Regions from separate parts of the Homo sapiens genome. Here region 1 is linked to region 2. The links are contacts of gene promoters, found by promoter capture Hi-C in blood cells and fetal thymus (Javierre and others, 2016). All regions are on one chromosome and are shown on one strand. Each heading gives the region's core, a stretch centred on a gene start or on the middle of the fragment in contact. The rest is flanking DNA. Distances are from core to core; before and after follow the strand shown. Region 1 holds the start of STK39 (serine/threonine kinase 39). Region 2 holds the start of TTC21B (tetratricopeptide repeat domain 21B).

What was found. The method cuts DNA at HindIII sites, captures the fragments that hold promoters and counts their contacts. A CHiCAGO score of 5 or more calls a contact.
Region 1: the fragment with the promoter of STK39 here is called in contact with the fragment with the promoter of TTC21B in region 2 in 1 of 17 cell types (activated CD4 T cells); the score reaches 5.1 in activated CD4 T cells.

What each region holds. Positions count from the first base shown.
Region 1 is chr2:168,246,209-168,250,180 of GRCh38, forward strand. It overlaps STK39 (serine/threonine kinase 39), which reads right to left and starts at 1,387. Exons shown (of 18, transcript NM_013233.3): 1 at 1,020-1,387. The coding sequence starts at 1,227. LOC107985959 (a long non-coding RNA gene) reads left to right here and starts at 1,753. Exons shown (of 5, transcript XR_007087282.1): 1 at 1,753-1,860. RefSeq lists silencers at 273-472, 493-582, 673-722, 1,083-1,132, 1,343-1,592. The HindIII fragment of the contact is 2,511 bases long and covers 1-2,203 here.
Region 2 is chr2:165,951,735-165,956,264 of GRCh38, forward strand. It overlaps TTC21B (tetratricopeptide repeat domain 21B), which reads right to left and starts at 2,042. Exons shown (of 29, transcript NM_024753.5): 1 at 1,951-2,042. The coding sequence starts at 1,971. RefSeq lists a silencer at 1,893-2,292 and an enhancer at 2,057-2,806. The HindIII fragment of the contact is 9,565 bases long and covers 1,657-4,530 here.

The DNA.
Region 1 (3,972 bases), core at 137-2,636, 2.3 Mb after region 2:
CTGAGGGCCCACTTAACCTGGAGGCTTCCCTAAGTGACAAGACTCTCAAACTGGATGATCCAATAGGGAAGGTTCTAAGTCAAGGGACAAAACAAATCTCCTGGCCCTTCAAGTGCTTGGCCCAAGGAAAAGTAACGCCGAGCCCTGCGACTCTGCCAGGTATTTAAAAATGTAAGATAAGGTGATATTTGTGAGCCGGCCAGAAGGCAACGAAAGGCAGAGAGCAGATCACCGGCAGCCTCGGATTTCACTCTTGCAGCTCGGCCTGAAACAGAGGGAAGCATCGGCCCGGTGCAGGGCAGGAGGCCAGGGCACCCGCTTTCCCCGGGGAGCCGGACTGGGCGGCAGGCGGCGCACCCTGGCACGGAGGGAGGCGGGTACCCGGGCGCGCCGAGTGGCGCGGAGAGCCGGGCTGCAAGGCGGGCGTGGAGTGGCGGCTGTCAGGAAGAGAGGCCAGCATCCTCCCCGGCCTCAGAAAAGCACTGGGGCCTCCGCGGCTTCTACGTGGCCCCGTTACCCACGACGAGAGGGTCACGACGGGAGGCAGAGGAGCGGCTGCGCCCGCAGAGTCCCCCAGGACGCGGCCCCCGGGGCCCTGGAAACCCAGGGCGGGGCCCCCGCAACCACACCCCACCCGCGGCTGCCTGTCCGCGTGGCCACCGGCCACGGGCTGCGGTCCCGGCACGCGGGGGGAGGAAGATGCGGCGGCGCCGCCTGGTCCTCCGCTCCACCGCCCCGGCGATCCCTGAGATAAAAGTTTGCAGCATGCGGCTCGTCTGCAGTGCGAGTCACATCCGCCGCGCCGCCTCCTGCAGCACCAACGCTCATAGAACGAACAAATACATTAAAAATTAAAAAAAAAAAAAAAAAAAAAAAAAAAACTGTTGAAGCCAGTAGGCCCCGAAGCCGGCCTCTCTGCCTCCAGGGCGTGCATGCAGGCTAGCCCAGCATCCCGCGCCCCCTCCCGCCCGGCCTCGGCGCCCGGCCTGTGCCGGCCCCGCCGCGCCCGCCGCACTGACCGATAACCTCCTGCAGCTCGTACGCGTCCCTGCAGATGGGCCAGCCGACAGCCTGTGCCGCCGGGGCCGGGGCCGGGGCCGGGGCCGCGGGAGCTGCCGGGGCCGGCGCTGCTGTCGCGGCCGCCGGGGCCGCCGCCGCCGCCGCTGTCACCGGGGCCGCCTGCTGGGGAAGCTGGACGTGCACGGGCGAGCCGCTCGGCTCCGCCATGATGCTGCGGAGGAGAGCAGGAGGACGCGCCGGCCGACGGACGACCTTCCACTTGAAACTTCCTTTGCCTCGCCGCCGACACCTCTCGGCCGGCGCACGCCCTCCCCGCCCGCCGCCGCCGCCGCCGTCCCCGCCGAAGCCAGCTAGGAGGGGAGGGAGCAAGGGAGGCCGAGCTGGGCGGAGGGAGGAGGCAGCGCCGGCGGAGGCGGGGAAGGGAGGAGGCGGCGGCCGCTGCGCTCGCCGCGCGCCCAGAGCCTAGCGCGCGCTGTTCTCCGCCTCGGCGAGGGGAACCGCCGCCCCCCCTCTCCGCCGCCCCCTCCCGCTCCCGCTCCGCTGGCGGCCGGGGAAGTTCCCACCAAAGGAGTCAGGCCGCTTTGTGTGTGCTTTCGGGGCCACCGGCCCTGGTTCTCCTCCTCCCTCCCTGCTCGCCCTGCGCCTTGGCCCCAGACGATCAGGCTTGCCGGAGGACGCCCCCTGGGGACCCCGAGGGCGGGGTCGTTGAACGGCCGCCAGGTTCTCACATTCAGAATTCTCCTGCCACCAAAGAGAACCTGAAGTTCATTTACAAGTTGACGAGCGGGATACCTACATGGTGTCCCTTTGCAAGACGCCAGTTAGAAAATAACCCAAGTTGTAAGTTTCCGGCGCTTTACTTGCCGGTATCCCTTTCCCACCTTGCCTAATCTAATCGCAGTCCTTCTAGTTTTTCTTAGTAAATGAAACTTGATTCCTTAGGTCTCTGGCTGTTCAGACTTCATTTTTTCCAAGCCGCCTGGATCCCAGGGAGGCGATTTAAGGGGCTGTGGAATTAGAATAAGACATGCAGGAGAGGTTTAGAAAGTTTGCTCAAATTCTACACCCTTAATAATTGCCACGTTAGCCCGTGAGGACACTGAGGCCAGACATCAGGCGTTTCTTTAAGAGCGTATACTTGGTGGGGAAATAATTTATTGGGGCATGAATAAACTGTGTTGGAAGCTTTTAATTGCTGTTTTTTCAACACCCCAAAAATAACCTCGTCTGTAAAACTGCTATGGTAAAACCATAGGTTTTCCTAATTATAGGTGTCATATTTAACAGTGAATGTTCTCTGTGTTCCCTCCGTGGAGGTGACCAGGATCCACCGTTCTTGTCTCCAACTGAAACGGGGCAGTAAACCAATAGTATTGGTCGTTTGGCCAAGATGATCTTGTCTGGTTCTCATTGCTAGGACTGCTGAAGAAATAGGTAAGAATAATGAGGATGTAATAAAAACTCTAGGGATATCATGATTTTGTCTCCCGAGTGTATGTACAGAAATCTCACTAAAATTTTTGAAAGATTATTCAGAAGAAGCCCAGAAATTTATTAGGAAAGTTAGTTGTCTAATCAAAACATTGATGTCCACTGAAGATGAGGGCACTTAATCTCTTGGAGCATTACAAAAGTTGGAGTAAAGCAGCTACCTCGCTCTGGTCTTGAAGCAGAAGTTCATGCTGAACTAAGTGTACATTCTTTGATGCGGAGGACTTCAAAAACTGTGTCTTGTCATGTCTGTCAAGAAACAGAGCCCTTCATAAACAAATTCTAGGCCTCTGAGGAACAGGGGAGCTCTTTATACCAAGCCATGGCTGCTGACCTCTTCAAGTGCTGCCTCCACCCTACCCCAAAGAACTTTTAAGGACTGTTTTTAAAGGAAAAGAAAAATGATCAAATGAATATGACTTCCATTTTGTCATATGAATTTCTATTTTTGACTTTCAAACCATGAAGTGGGATTATGAAGACCAGGAATGTTCTTGGGACTTAGTAGGAAAACATGATGCCGTCAAGATCAATATCACAGAATTGAATCAAACACAGATCAATTAGTCTCCCACAAAAAGCAACTGTTCCCCAGTCACAGACTACATGTCGGTCTCTAGTCAACCGCTTTCCAAATGGCTACCAGGATGAAGACTTGCTTGAGTGGATGACTCAGTGCACATCCATCATTTCTACAGTAAATCGGTTTAAAGAAGAATGTCCCCTGGCATTGCTCTTTGGCATCATTTTTATAAATGAAGAACAGAATATGAATAATATTTTAAAATTATACAAAAGCATTAGAGTTAATGTTTCTGTAAACAATTGGGTAAAATGGTACTTAAAACTTAGAAATATATGTTTTTTAGAAGTATTCAACTGATATGCACTTTTCCCGGAAAATCCATTACTAAATTTAAATTGAAAGATGGGGATGGAGGCGGGTGCCTTTAAAATATAAACAAGGTTTATTTCAATGCATAAAGAGTACATTCAGTGAGCGATGTTAAAAATAGAAAGGAAAAATAAGGGTCTAAATGTTTTTAAAGTGTATCCAACTGCCTCATGATGTGTCAGGGTTTCTCAATCTCAGCGCTGTTTTGTGTCAGATAGTTCTCTTCGTTGTAGAGGTCTGTTCTCCTGTGGTATGGTCTGAATGTTTCTGTCCCCCCAAAATTCATATGTTGACACTTAATCGGCAGTGGAATAGTATTAAGAGCCTTTAGCAGGAGATTGGGTCATGAGGACAGAGCCCTCCTGAGTTAGATTAGTGCCCTTATAAATGAGGCCGGAAGGAGCTTGATGAGGATGCAGCTAGAGGCATTAGCTATGAAGTAGAGGGCAAGCCCTCAGTAAATACCTAATTTGCTGGCACCTTGATCTTGGACTTTCAGCCTCCAGAACTGTAAAAATGAATTTCCGTTGTTTGTCAGCTACCCAGTCTAAGGTATTTTGTCATAC
Region 2 (4,530 bases), core at 792-3,291:
ACATGGTTCCTGTCCCCCCGGAAAACCTACATTTTTCAGATGAGACTGTAATCTGAAGACTAACTGAAATATAATGTAGTAAATGTAAGAAAAGAGCTTATAAACTCCTTTGGGAATGTGGGATAGCAACATTTTGACAGCATTGAAAACTGAATGTGGTGTGAGGGGAGGATGGATGACTAAAATCAAGGGAAAGATTATTGGGGAGGATTTCAGAGCTGACTCTTGAATTGCAAACCCCTCATTCTCCCTCCACACACGTACACGCTCTTCCTATTTCCTTTTCATGATTCTTGAGGAAGGTACAGGAGTTAGGAAGAGGAACTGCAACAACACAGATAACAAGTCATCAATGGTACATTGGGATGGCAGTGGTGATGAAGATGACTAAAAGCCACTCCATACTCTAGAGCAGGGTTTGGCAAACCACACTCTGTGGGCCATATCTGGCTGGCTGGCTGTACAGCCAGTGAACTAAGAATGGTTTTTATATTTTCCAGCTGTCAAGGAAAAAAAAGAAATATTTCATAACATGAAAATTACATGAAAGTCAAATTTCAGTGTTCATAAATAAAGTTTTATTGAAACACAGCCATGCTCATTTAAGTATTGTCTATGGCTGTTTTGAACAAGCCAATTAGATGTGATAGACCATACGGTCCATAAAGTCTAAAATGTGTACTATCTGGCCCTTTGTTGAGAAAGTTTGCTATTCTCTGCTCTGGAGGCTTAAGTGAGACAGAGAGTATTGGATGATGAGGTTGGAGACGAAGGTGGGGTGAAAAGCCTCATATTAAGTACTTGGACTTGAACCTCAAGTCTAAGTAATGAGGAGGCCCATTTTTACATTTTACATTAAAGTGTTTTTATTAAAATGTTCATTTGGGTGGCAGTGCAAATAATACATTTAAGGGAATAAAAAAATGTAAGGATATAGGGGGATAGCTAGAACAGAGGATAATGTAAAACTTCAGGCAGAAAAACAAGACATTTCAGCATTCCCTAACCTCCTACATCGCCAAATTGTCCTCCATCCACTTATCACCATCTCACAGGATACACATTTCATTTACCTACTTGTTGTCTGACTCCTCCTACTCAAATGTAAGCTCCAAGATTGGAAGAGTTTTTCTTGGTTTTATTATTTCAGTGCTTAGAACAGTGCTAGACACATAGGAGGCATTCAGTAAATATTTGTTGAGTCAACTGAATTAGGGTTTTTCCCCAGCATTAATTAGCCTGTAAAATCTGAGAAGGCAGAAACTGTTCAGTTTTGCTCACTGCTATCTCCAGCTTCTAATGGACATACAGTAACCCTTCATAAATATTTGCTGAACGAGTGATTCAGTGAACAAATGAATAGAGAAGACCAACATCCGAAAAGTTATTTTATTTTCAAGCCTCATGTCTTTAACTGTTTTATATCAGCCTTTCTTAAGTTGACCGTCATTAATATTTGCTGAATGAATGAGTCAGTGATAAACAGAGAAGACCATCACCCTAAAATAACGACCCCTCCACTTTTAAGTCTTACGTCTTTAATGGGTTTCATATAATCTTTCTGCGCTCTTTTTACTGTCCAGTGTGGGAGCTGACACTAGTTTGCCTTAAGTCCTTAAAAATCGCACCCGGAGGCGCAGTGTCATAGGTAACCCAAGCTTTCCTAGTAAACATGATACAAAAGTAAACACAACCAACAGCATGGGGACCAGCAATTCAGAAACACCGAGCGGGCGGGCTGCCCAGACCTGGGCTTCCCCAGCAGGGCCCGCGGAGACCGGCCGTGAGCAGAGGCTGCAGGCCCACCCCGCAACCCGAGCAGCCGGGGCACCGCAGGGAAACAGCGGCCTAGCGAAGCCACCCGAGCTCCCTCCGCGCCCCCGGGCCAAAAGGCCGCAAAGGAACTCCGCCCGCCCGCCCGCTCACCCGCTCACCCGCTCACCCGCTCACCTTCAATTCCTGCGAGTCCATGGCTGCCCCGAGGCCGGGCCGCGGGGCTCTGGGGATTGTCTCGCCGCAGCCTAAAGGAAGACGCAGAATTCAGCTCCCCTAGCCTCCCGGAGCGCTCTAGCGCCCCGGGCCCCAGCGGGAGGGGCGGGGTCGCGCCGCGATTGGCTGTCGGAGGGAGAGGCGGGCCTGTGTGGCGGGGATCGTGCTGTAATGGAGCAGGGGCGGCGGGGACCCGGAGGTGAGGGCTGCGAGGGCCGCCCGGGAGGGTCCGGGCTGGGAAAAGGGCCTCCGCCGGAGAGTGCAGCTGGAAAAGGAGGTCACACTGGGAAACGGCTGTCTGAGGACAGTGGGTGGGCGGGCCGAGGAAATGGAATTCAGGAATAAAGGAAACGGAGTATGAAGAAGGGGAAGTCTGTTTCCTGTCACTGGTTGTAAAGGAAGACACCATTTTCTGCACGTTTGTCTGGAGGCGGATTCCCGCAGTGCGGCTCTCAGCAAGGCTCTGCCGGCGCGGGAAAAAGCGGTCAACTTTCACGTGGGCAAGTTGTTTTACGGCCACAAGGTGGCGCAGAAAAAAAAAATCACACGTTCTTAACAGAAATACGGTGCGCTTGGGCCCGTCTTTGCAGGCGTTGCTGCAATCTTTGTTAGAATGTGTGTTCAATTAGCCCTTTTTTACCAGCCCCGATAATAAGAGGGACAAATAAATTAAACTTCCAGAAAATTAGTGTCTTGTTTTCAATGATACTACTGATTTTAAACTGAGAATAAAATGAATCCCAATGCAAATTTTTATGTTTGCACCCCATTAGGCAACTCAATCAGTCACACATAGATTTCTTAAGTCCAGGAAATTAAATGGAAATATAATAGACTAAGATTTTCTATTTCTGCTTAAATAAATATTTAAAATAGTGCATAAGGTCTGAGATTTAAGTGATCTTTGCAGAATCTTTCACGTGGATTCCAAATTTTGATCCTAGTGTTAATTATCTTACTTTAGTTGACATGATACGTAGTTGCCTTTTCCAGATTTTAAGTTTCTTAAGGAGTTTATAAACATTGACTTTTTCCCCATGCCAATAGGTTATGTAAGGACAGTCTTGAGAAAAACGGTAGCTACCATCCTAGGCTTTAAGGTGAAGCAATATTTCTCACCGGTTTCTCTTTAAAGGAATTCACCACGTATTTTCACGAGCAACTTTTTTTTCTTTCCAATATTTATAGTCCAGCTAAATGTCTGTGGTGATGAACAACTGGTGATATCTCTTTGATTTTCAAAGCTGCGGATTAATCCGCACTTGGTATACAGCAAAGAATACCACAGGACCAGGGTGCTCAATGAAGTGTATAATCTTGAACTGTAAACCTTTGGTTATAAGAGAAAAGTTCATCTGTAAGGAAATATCTCAGGATCATGGTTAACAGAACAGATGATCAACCTACCTTTTGGAGATCTTGAAAGTCATATTAATTTAGCCTCGTATTCTCTTCACTGAATTCTGTTCTAAGGTTGAATTATTTAGCACAAAACACCAAGCCTGATGTTTCATAAATGTTTGTTGGATTAAAAGTACTCTGAGATTTGCTTTGACACTCACGGTGACTTGGTGTGCCCTGTGCCCTTACTAGATCTCATGTAAGAAATTTATTTTGGATCTCAGGCCAGGAAAAACTCTTGTCTTTCCTGAAAAATCGATGTGTTCCTTAGCAGTAACATTTTTATCGGCTCACTTTTACTAGCTACAAACTTTTGAGTCTGATATCCATGACCCTTCACCTCATCGTCTTTTCAAGCCTTATCTTCTACCTCCCCTTCAAGGAGCCTTTATTCCGCTCAGTGGGACAAATATTCCTTCTTCTGGTAATGCTTTCCCCTACTTTGTTTTGAGCTCTTTCTTCACCTGAGAAAATCTCCTTCTTCTGAGTTCATTTCAAATTTCATGAAGTCTTTAAGGATCACCATAACTGGATGGGTATAAAAATATCACAGTGTAGTGGCAAGAATACCCTCTTCTGCATCTGAGGTGGAGCTCCTATTACGCTAGCTACTTTTGTGACTTGGGGAAGTAATTTCCCTAAGCCTCATTTTCCTTATTTACTAAAGAAACTAAATGCCTTACAGACATATTAAAACTTCCTGACACATAATAGGCATTGTATAACCAATAGTTTCCATTAAACACGTAGTGCTCTATAGCAGTGGTCCCCAATCATTTTGGCACCAGGGACCAGTTTGGTGGAAGACAATTCACAGAAGATAAATTTTCCATGGACAGGGGTAGGGGAGATGGTTTCGGGTTGAAACTATTCCATCTCAGATCATCAGATTCTTATCTAAGGAGCATACAGCCTAGATCCTTCACATGCACAGTTTATAATGGGGTTTGCATTCGTATGAGAATCTAATGCCTCGCTGATCTGACAAGGAGGTGGAGCTTGGGGTAACGCTCCCTTTCCTGCCCCGCAGCTCACCTCCTGCTGTGTACCCCGTCCTGCTGTATACCCCATCCTGCTGTGTAGCACTGATTTGCAGTCCTCAGATTGGGGACCCCTGCTCTATAAGACTTATTACACTTG